Regions from separate parts of the Homo sapiens genome. Here all the other regions are linked to region 1. The links are contacts of gene promoters, found by promoter capture Hi-C in blood cells and fetal thymus (Javierre and others, 2016). All regions are on one chromosome and are shown on one strand. The core of a region is centred on a gene start or on the middle of the fragment in contact, and the rest is flanking DNA. Distances in the headings are between cores, read along the strand shown.

Evidence for each region. The method cuts DNA at HindIII sites, captures the fragments that hold promoters and counts their contacts. A CHiCAGO score of 5 or more calls a contact.
Region 2: a fragment that was not itself captured here is called in contact with the fragment with the promoter of LINC01594 in region 1 in 3 of 17 cell types (M0 macrophages, M1 macrophages and M2 macrophages); the score reaches 6.5 in M0 macrophages.
Region 3: a contact is called between a fragment that was not itself captured here and the fragment with the promoter of LINC01594 in region 1, in 2 of 17 cell types (M1 macrophages and M0 macrophages). The highest score is 6.4, in M1 macrophages.
Region 4: a fragment that was not itself captured here is called in contact with the fragment with the promoter of LINC01594 in region 1 in 1 of 17 cell types (M1 macrophages); the score reaches 6.2 in M1 macrophages.

What each region holds. Positions count from the first base shown.
Region 1 is chr2:108,216,565-108,219,113 of GRCh38, reverse strand. LINC01594 (long intergenic non-protein coding RNA 1594) reads left to right here and starts at 1,273. Exons shown (of 5, transcript NR_131251.1): 1 at 1,273-1,419. The HindIII fragment of the contact is 2,331 bases long and covers 1-1,826 here.
Region 2 is chr2:108,470,741-108,473,289 of GRCh38, reverse strand. It overlaps GCC2 (GRIP and coiled-coil domain containing 2), which reads right to left. Exons shown (of 23, transcript NM_181453.4): 6 at 1,174-2,549; 7 at 391-463. Among named protein-coding and RNA genes, the nearest start is that of GCC2, 23 kb to the right of the region's middle. The HindIII fragment of the contact is 8,054 bases long and covers 1-2,549 here.
Region 3 is chr2:108,407,374-108,409,922 of GRCh38, reverse strand. No RefSeq gene overlaps it. Among named protein-coding and RNA genes, the nearest start is that of SULT1C4, 31 kb to the right of the region's middle. The HindIII fragment of the contact is 193 bases long and covers 1,184-1,376 here.
Region 4 is chr2:108,362,682-108,365,230 of GRCh38, reverse strand. No RefSeq gene overlaps it. Among named protein-coding and RNA genes, the nearest start is that of SULT1C4, 14 kb to the left of the region's middle. RefSeq lists an enhancer at 1-843. The HindIII fragment of the contact is 261 bases long and covers 1,140-1,400 here.

The sequences.
Region 1 (2,549 bases), core at 24-2,523:
TTCATTGTTACTTTAAAGACTCATATAATAAATGATAGTCTTCCAGTTTCCATTCAATTCATCAGACGTTTATTAAGCAGCTACCTTGGACCAGATACTGTTCCAAGTTTTTCAGTTTCATCAGTGTTTTACATAGATAGATAGATAGATAGATAGATAGATAGATAGATAGATAGATAGATATAAAATCTGTGCCAATGAGCTGTAATTTTAGCCATAATCTTGGACAAGAAAGTAGTGAATTTATTTCCTTTAAGGACGTGTATTTGTAACTCATTTTTATGCTGTGTCTTTGTGCTGATGATATTTTGCAGTTGTCACAGTGACTTATGAAAAATTCTAAGGGGGAATCAGGCTAGCTCCCTAAGAATCACACTTTTAAACTCATGGTTTTAAAAAGTCTGGCCATTAAGTGCAATGATTAAGGTTAAATTTGTGTACCTTTTACCCAAGAGGTCAAAAGTCAGATTGTCTTCAGAGTCTCACTAATGAACAGCACATTCAATTCATTATGGTGAAAGATGCTTGAATTTTGACCACCACCCCGTCTTTAGACTATTTAGTGTCACTATAAAGGAATAGCTGAGGCTGGGAAATTTATTTTAAAAAATGTTTATTTGGCTCATAATTCTGATGGCTGGAAGACTGGACACGTGGTGAGGGACTCAGACTGCTTCCACTTCTGGCAGAAGGTGAAGGGGGTCAGTGCATCCAAAAATCACATGGTAAGACAGGAAGCAAGAGAAGGGAGTTTCCAGGCTCTTTTTAACAACCAACTCTTGTGGGAAGGAATAGAGCAAGAGCTCACTCACTCCTGGGGAGGGTATTAATCTATTCCTGAGGGGTCTCCCACTATCACCCAAACACCTTCTGTTAGACCCCACCTCCAACATTTAGAATCAGATCTCAACATAAGGTTTGGAAGGGACAAATGTCCAAACCATGGCAATCTCTTTCCCAGGGAATACTCATCCTGTATATTTTTCCATGTGAGATCCAACCATAACCTAGGCATCTCTTGTGAGAAAACAATGCTGGTAGAATTCTGAGATTCAGTCCACTGGATACCTGTGGGAGGCCTTGAATGTTGCCTTTGTAAATCATCTCTAGTTCTGGCCATGTGATTGTTGGGCAATGGGCAGAGGCTGAGAATGGTCTTCCTGGAGCCTCCAATTTAGTGAGCAAAGTGTAGAGTATGTTAGAAGAGATGATACTTGTGATGGAAATGATTAGGGCAGAATAAGGGGAACCAGGAAGTGCTGGATTGTAAGTAGAATGATCAGGGAAGACATGACTGAAATGATGCTTTCTGGGTAAAGATTGAAGGATATGAGGAGAGGGTCATGTAGCTGTTTGATCGAAGAGCATTCTTGGCAGAGGAAATGCCAGGCCAAAGTCTCTATGGCAGGACTACACTAGGTGAGTTCAAGGAAGAGTGGGGAAGTCACTAGGTCTGAAGAGAAGTGAGTGTGCAAAGGTTAGAAGGTGGTTAGAAAGGGACCTGGGGACAGATGGTGTAGGACAGGAGACCGTGATACAATTCAGCTTAGACTGAATGGGTTGGGGCACTGCTGCAGCATTTTGATCAGCACAGTGATGTGATCCATTTAGGATCATATGGTGACTGGGTAATTATGACATAGAAGGAGGGATATTCATTAGGTTGTGATTGCAAGTCTTCAGGGAAGACACGCCAGTGACTCAGAGGAGGTTGGTCACAGTAATGTTGATAAGAAGAGGTCATGTTCTGGATATAGTTTGAAGTCAGAGCCAAATGATGTATGGATTGGATGTAGTGTGCAAGAGAGAGAGAAATAGAATAAGCTTTGGCTGAGCAACTGAAAAGATGGAGTTGCCTTTTAATTGAGATGAAGAAGACAGTGGGTGAATTAGGTTTGTGGGTTTGACTTTTTCTGTTTGAAATGTATATAAAACAAGGAAGTAGAGATATGAAGTAGGCAGTTGGGCTGACAATTTAGGAATTCAGGGTTGAGATCTGAGGTGGAGATAAAAATTTGGAAGATGGTACCATGTTGCAGAAATTTAAAATCCATGTGAGAGAATGAGATTATCTAAGAAGCGAGCCAGAGAAAGAAGAGATAGAAAGCAGAAGTAACATAAAAGCTGTAATACTATTTAAGCCTTTTTCTCTGTTTTTATGATGTTTCTTTTATAAGGATTATTTTTAAAATTTCTTTGCCACATTATTCTAATGAGTCCACTGTCTAGTTTTACGAAAACACATAATAATGTTCCTCAATATCTATATTTCACTATGCCACTCGACCTACCCAGCATTTAAAGGTGCACTTGAGTGTTTATGAAACGTTCTTTTAATCTCCTGCTATATAAAAAGGAAAAAGTCAAAAATATTAACAGCTGATGGACAAAGAAATAAATTACGTATTTGCATGTGGAAATAATAAAGCAACTTAGAACTAAATCACAAAGTTATCTGGGAAGGACATTGAATGTTTTATTGTAAATCTTTAACATAACTCAAAAATTAGTAGTAGTATTGGAGAACATGCAAACCTCATGTTAGTTTA
Region 2 (2,549 bases), core at 33-2,532, 250 kb before region 1:
TATGCTGTTAGTACTGTATCTTGTCCACACCTCAAACAACAGTGAGATCTCTGAGCACATGGTCTGTACCTCAACCACTTTTCTATCACCAGGGTCTAGAATAGTTGGGCATTTAAATAAAATTTGCTAAATGAATGAAAAATCCAAAATAAATCATGAAGCCATTTATAAATCACACCAATCTTGCTTGGGTTAAACAATAGAAAGTAACACTTTTGAAAGAGAAGGCAAACAGGTGTTAGAGGGGCAAGAATGTGAGCTCGAGGAAAAGACAGCTACGAACTGTGTTTTTAACAACTCATTATTTGGCTACTATATTTCCCAATCTATTCTAACACTAAGAAGAATCTGTCTAATTAATTGTGACAACATCTGCAAAACCATAGTTACCTATTTTTTCTTCCAACTCTTTTACTGAAGACAGAGGATCATTTTTTACAGAAGGTGATTTTGCTAAGGAATCCTAGATTTTACAGGGGAAAAAAAAACACAAAACAAAACAAAAACCAGAATCAGAATTCATTTTCCATAATGAACTGGCCATCATGTTAAGCATAAGAAAATCACTATCAAAGAGAATTCCTACAGAAACCAATTTGGTCAACAGATTTTCCCTTGTTAGACCAGAAAATTAATACTGACCTTACTATGCATATGGCATTTACTATTAAAAAAAAAAAAAGTAGTAACCAAGGCCAAGATAAACAACCTGATACATTAAATACATGTGTAATAAGGAGAAGATTAAATGATTTTTAATCTTTAATTTTTAAAGAAAACCCTAAAATTTTAGCAATACCACCACAGCTCTTACTTAAAAAGTGCTCTTTACAAAAAATAACTAAGCATATCACACGAGAATGAAACTCAAGTTTTTCCATGTTTAGTTGTTTTGCTAGTGACTAATAAACTTCTGATCAAGACATTTAAACCCCTAATCATTTAATCTTCTATAAACTCAAGATTTTAAAAGTATCTAAAACTCCCCAAAAATAAATGTAATAAACTGGACATACAACATGGAAATGTCTAATGCACTTTTCAGAAAGTTGCCACTTGGGCTTAAATGGTAAAAATTTACTTTTGACGTCAAGGTGTAAAAATGTTTAACGTATATATTGTAGAGTTGAACTAAGAATTTATTTGAAACAATAGAATTCAAATGAATGGTACCTTTAATAGTATCAACTCTGCTCTCCTATCTCGTAATTCTTTTTGTTCTAGTAGTGGCTTTAGGTTTTCATGTTCCTTTATAAAACATTTTTCTTTTTCATTATGGATTTCACTTTTGCTACATGTTTGAGATACTTCTTCAACTTGAATTAAAAGATTCTGATTTTCAAGCCTTGTTTTTTCATTAGCATTCTTCATTTCTAGAAGATCAGACTGCAGGGCCTCTTTTTCTGACTGTATTTCTTCTAACTCTTTCCTTAAGAGAACTTTCTCTTGCTCATAGTCTCTCAATAAAGACTTAAGTTCTTCACACTGAACTACACTCTCTTCTTGAAGGCACTTAATCTCTTTTTCTAACTCTAATACTTTTTCATCACGCTGAAAAGCCAGGTTGCATTTTTCCTCATTTATTTTTGCCAAGGATTCACCGACTGCCTGTAGGACATTAACAACATCTTTCTCTTCACTGTCTTCTGAAACTTCTGATCCCATTTCTTTAAGAAAACCATACAACTGAGTTTTAACAAATAACTTCTGAACTTGCTCATTTTCAAGCAGTTTATTTAAATTATCTTGCTCTTCAACCATTAACTGAAGTTTCTTTTCTAATTGAGTAATATGTTCTTTAAGGATAACATCTTCTTTTTGAGACAAAAAAACCTCCAAATCCCTACTCAACTGTTTTTTTTCTGAACTGAGTTTATTGTTTTCCTCATAAAGAGACTTCACTTCAGCTGACAATACTTCTTTGTCTTCAGAGAGAACTTTCATTTGAACCATAAGTTTTTCTAGTTTTTGGTCATTTTGATCCTTTTCTTTTAAAGTCTCCTCTAGTCCTCCTGTTAATTCATTTACCTTTTGTTCTAGTTCACTGTTGTACTGGATTGTTTGCTCTACTTTCTTCCCAAGTTCAAGAATCAATCTTTCTTCCCTTTCACATTTCTTATGGAAATTATCCATTTCTTCATGGGAATTTTTCAGTTTATTTATAAAATCATCTTTTTCCTCAGTAAGAGAATTTATCTTTCCTTCTAATTCTTTTAACATGGTATCTCTTTGACTGAGACTAAGTAAGTATACTCCATTCTTTTCTTGAAGGTTCTTTATGGTATTTTCAAGTTCTGGTACCAATTCTTGTTGAGATAGTAACTTTTCATTTTCTCCCTGGAGGCGATTCACAGTTTCGAGAAGGGCATCTTTTTCAGTAAAAGCAGTTCTGAGCTTCTGCTGCAGTTCATGAACATCAGATGCTTGCTGTTGCTTCATTGATTCGAACTCTTGACTTATTTTTCCAGCAGATTCCCCCAGTTCTGTTTGTAAAATTTCCATAATCTCTCGTAAACTCTCATAATTTAAAATTGCTTCTTGCTTTTCTT
Region 3 (2,549 bases), core at 31-2,530, 190 kb before region 1:
GACTCCAAGGAAGGCAAGGCAAGCTGGCTTCCTGAGAGAAAGACTGAGTAGAGGCTGTGTGCCTCAACAGAACCTAGGCCTGCTTCAGATGTCAAAGAGGGAATAGCAATGAAGACAATTGAAGTGGGCTGCCTGACTGGAGACCTCATCATTGCAAATGTATCCATTTCAGAGAAGGGGGCCTGTGTTTGAGATGCCATACTCAGAGAGAGAAGGCAGTTCACAAGGGGTGGAATGTATTCAGACCCTGGAAACCCGTGGTGGTATGGTGGTAAACTAACTCATTGATTGCTCCTCCTTGTTGTGGTCACTTGTCAGCTTCTGGGTCACTTATGTTTCACCTCACATCTTGACATGTTTAGGTCCTCAGTCTTCGTTGCCACTCCTTTCAATTTTTGGTGATTTTAATAACCACACGGACTACCTCTTCTTTTCTTCAGTGCTCCTGTGTTTCACTCTCCCCCAGTTGATTGCTTTAGTGATCATGCCTTAGGACTTGTCTTTACCAATAATCGGGTACTTTTCATAATCACAATTACAGGCATCTCACCAACTAACCACCATCTTCCATCTTTCCCACGCACTCCTTCCAGCACTCTGACCCTAACAATGGTGCTACCTGTGCCAGACCATCTGCATCTGTGTCTGCATATCCTGCCTTCCTCCTGTTACTAGGGATGAACTGTTTGAACTCCTGGGTTCTGTCTGTTCCCACCCCACACTCATCATCAGTTTTCCTTTCTTTTCTATAATGTCTCACATTTTATACTTTGCTGCCACATTCTACCTCAGATACTGCCCATTTTTTCCCTCTGTAATAGTAAACTCCTAAAATAGTTGACTATATTTACCATCTCCAGATAATTTCCTTGTCTCTCTTGCAGTCTCTGCAGGCAGAACTTTTGTGATCAATCTACCAAAATAGGTCTTGTCAAGGTTAAAAATGGCCTCCACTTTAGTAAATTCAGTGTTGTTTGTCAGTAATGCCAATAACTACCCTCTACCTCCAAACATAAATTTTTTTTTCCGTGGAAGAAGGAGAGGGAAAAGCAGAACTCTAAATTTGGCTAACAACTTCTGAAATAACTTAGTAATAACTAATTTAACCACATTTACCAGGACACTAATTTTGTTTTATTTTCTGGTTTGGAAAACATGTAGGCTGATTGTCAGAAATTAAGCTTAGTTATAGGAAAATTTAAAAAGTTACCTTTTTGTGTATCTTAGGTTTATTATCTATGAAATTCACTACTGCAAAAAGAACAGGAGGCATTTTAATGTGGAGAGCTGTTAAGATCTATAAAGGGGAGAGGGAAGTGGTGGGAGCATTTTAGTGTGAAGAATGAAGTGAGAAAAATGGGGGAGACCAGAAAGCTTTGAGTCCCGTATGAGTCAAAAGAAGAAACAAGAATTCCGTCTCAAAGGACAAAATTTCAAAGACTATTGAACTTAACTAATGACAGCTCTAAACCACTGACCAGTCATGAAATAAGAGGATAAAAATATTCACCTAGGCCGGGTGCTGTGGCTCACACTAGTAATCCCAGCACTTTGGGAAACTGAGGTGGGGGATTACTTGAGGTCAGGAGTTCGAGACCAGCCTGCCCAACATGGTGAAACCCATCTCTAGTAAAAATACAAAAATTAGCTGGGCATGGTGGTGTGTGTTTGTAATCCCAGCTACTCAGGAGGCTGAGGCAGGAGGATCACTTGAACTTGGGAGGCAGAGGTTGCAGTGAGCCGAGATCGCACCATTGCACTCCAGCCTGAGTGACAGAGTGAGGCTTCATGTAAAAAAAGTGGAAATAGGTTTAATGTCTTTTGAAACAGTTGTGCAATACCTAGCAATGCTGAAGGTATATAGCATGATGATCCAGGAATTCCCCTCTTAGGTTTATACCCCAGGGAAACTGTGTGTGTGCCCAAGGAGACATAAGAGGAATGTCTAAAGTGGCTTTGGTGGTAATAGCAAACTGTTGGAAATAACCTAAACATCTAGCAATAGGAGAATAGATATGTAAATAATGTGGTATGTGATAAAACAAAGAAATAAGTTGTGTTACTATATTCATATGCTGGAATGCTACACAGCGGTGAAAAGAAATAAGCCAGGACTATATTTGAACATGGATGAATATTACAAACTAGTGTTGAACAGAAAAAGAAAATTGTTGAAGAATGCATATAGTAGGATAATTTAAATCTGCAAGCATGTGCACTAAAAATATAAACAAATGCATGGGAATGAGAACCACCAAACTCAGAGAGAAGGAGATAACTCAGGAAGGAGGGGAAGGGATGCTGCTGGGAGTGGTACCAAGGAACTTCCCCTGGAATGCTTTATGCTTTATTAAAGTTTGTGGTAGGTACTTAGATGCTTTATTTAAGTCCGTGGTAGGTGCATGAGCATTTGCTCTATTATATTTCATATCATTTATATATTTCATATAAAAATGCTCAGACTACTAAGTATTCTTCATGTCTGATACTCATTTTGTCTTGTTTGAGTCTTTTACTGATTGGAATAATTAATTTTTTTCCACTTAGAT
Region 4 (2,549 bases), core at 21-2,520, 150 kb before region 1:
AGCAAGGCTAGCAAAGATAACTAGAAATTTGCAGAAAATCTGTAAGTCTAATTTTAATGATTGTATTATGTTGGGAATGGGTGCTCGGTGTCGCAAAAATCAACATTGAGACAAAGGATCTCTCAGCAAGGCTAGTTTACTTTCTGCAGAAAGGGTGCTGTTCTCTGGCAGTCTTGCCATGAGAGCACACATGAACAAAGGAGACGGGGTCATTTATAACCTGACGTGTCCACCCTACTGCTGTGTCTGGTTTCCTTTGGCTGGAACAGGACCTCACATTCTGTACTCCACTTGATTGGCTAGCAACTTAGAACTTCCCAAAACAGGCAAATTGCGGAATGCTGAGAGAGGCAAAAACACTTCCAAATAAGGAAGAGAAATTGGTTATGACCTAATGCTTGCTTGGACCGGTTCAGGCATGCCAGGGCAAATATCTAGGCTAGAATGTGGGAGCTGAGAACACAGAGTATATTGATTTCTTTATTATGGCTAGCAGATGTTTAAGAATATTAGCACAGGACTTTGACTAAATTTTGCTTCTAAGAGAGGTTACTATCCATTCTCAATTAGACTTGGAGGAAAGTACCTTTGAAGAGGAACCTCTACTTATTTCATTTTCTACATATTAGCAAATAGTAAAACAGATCTGAGATTCCCCTTGCTTTTCTTCCTCTGTCCTCTCCTTTAGATTACTGCCATGGTCAAATGAAGGGAAAAGAAGTGATTCATGTTAGAAAAATTGCATATATTGGAAAATAACATTTTAGGGGATGAGAATTTGCAAATCTTTCTTATTAAAAGCAGACTTAAGAGAATTAGATAATGAAGGATAACAGGATTAGGATTCTGAGGTATCCTCTAAGTGAGAACAACTTTTGGTTGTTTTCGGGTGCTTACTTTTTCTCTCTATAGGTTCTTTTATCAGAATCACTAAAGAACTATGAATATGAGAAAAAAATCCAAGAATGTTTCCTATTCAACTAAGTCTTCCTGAAGCTTATTTATTTATATTTTAAATTGATAAGTGGTAGTTATATATATTTTGGGGACATAGCAGTAATCAGACACTCTTGGGTGCCTGAACATTAAAGTTTTTGGGCAGGAAAAAGGCAACAAGGCAGTGCTTAAGACAATAAGCTTTTCAAAGAATTGGAGAAAAACCTTGGAGGAAGGAGAGCCAATGAAAAGACAATTGTTAAGGCACGAGTCAGTGAGGGCCTGGATTTGACTTTTGACAGTGGAATTGAAAGGAAAGAGAGATTCAAAAGACAGGACACAAGAAAAACAGACAGGATTTTATGACTGACTGACTGTGGAAAGAAAAGTAGATGTTGCTAACAGAGCCGGTTTAGAAGCCAGCTTCATGGAAAAAGGAGAAAAGGAGAAGCTAGCACGAAGCTTTGAAAGCCAAGGCAGTGAAAATATCATGAAGACCAAAGCAGAAGTGGTTTTCAGGAAACTGTAGTGAAACACTTTAAAAGCTGCAGGTAGATGATATCAGCAAAATGGCAGAATAGGAGGTCCCAGGCTTCACTACTGCCAACAGAAAGTTCAACTGACAACAAAGAACACCTTGGTAAAAATCCCAAACTTTGGGTATAAGCTGGAGTTTCCTGCATTGTCCACAGAACTGAATAAAAACGACATTAAAGAGATAATAGAAATAGTCTCACATTAACCATGTCACCCTTTCCACTCCCCCAAATTGGCACAGTGCCACACAGAGGGGATTCCCCAGGACCCATGATTTCTACAGTGAGAAGTAGAGCCAGAGGAGGACATCCAACTTCCCTAGTCTTCTGAGATGCTTCCCAGAAAGCCCATTCCAGTTTTACTTCATGGGAAATACAGTGGGAAACAGCGTGGCTAGAACACTTGGGGTGAGGTAGAAACAAAGCAAGGAGGTGGTAACAAAGCAGTATTGGTGGTAACTCTGTGTACCTGTCAGTGGTGGCGCCCAATCAGAGGTACCAGCTAACAGATGTGATGTAATGCTCTACCTAGCTTGAGTCCCTAGATGGTCAGCCTCCATGACTCGCCTTAGACCCTACCCAGGGATTCCACTTAAGGAGGAAGATGATCACTGCAGCAAATTTCAGTAAAGGGTAGGGACTAGTTCTGCCACACCCAGAAGTTCAAACAGCATTTGAAGCATCCTCAAAGCCCATCCCCAAACCCCACCCACAGAGGGGGACAACTGATGCAGCAAACTTTGGCAAAGAGCCAAGGCTAGATCTGCCACACACAGGAGTTTAAACAGTTCTCAGCCCAACCTCAAAGCCCACCCCAAGGACTCATTTAGGCAGGGCAGCAAACCTCAACCATCCATTGCTATTAAGCATAGCAGCTGGTTCCATCCATCCCAATCAGTGACTCCACCTAACCTCAGGGTCCCTCCTGCAACACTATTTAGCTGCTGAACTCAAATATCAGTACCATCTGACCAGGGAATACACCCTGTGGCCCTGCTTGATTAGAAGCCATTGTAGTGCCAATTGACTGGCTCGGCTTGATGGCAGAGCTCAGCCAGTAGTTTTGCCAGATAGCAG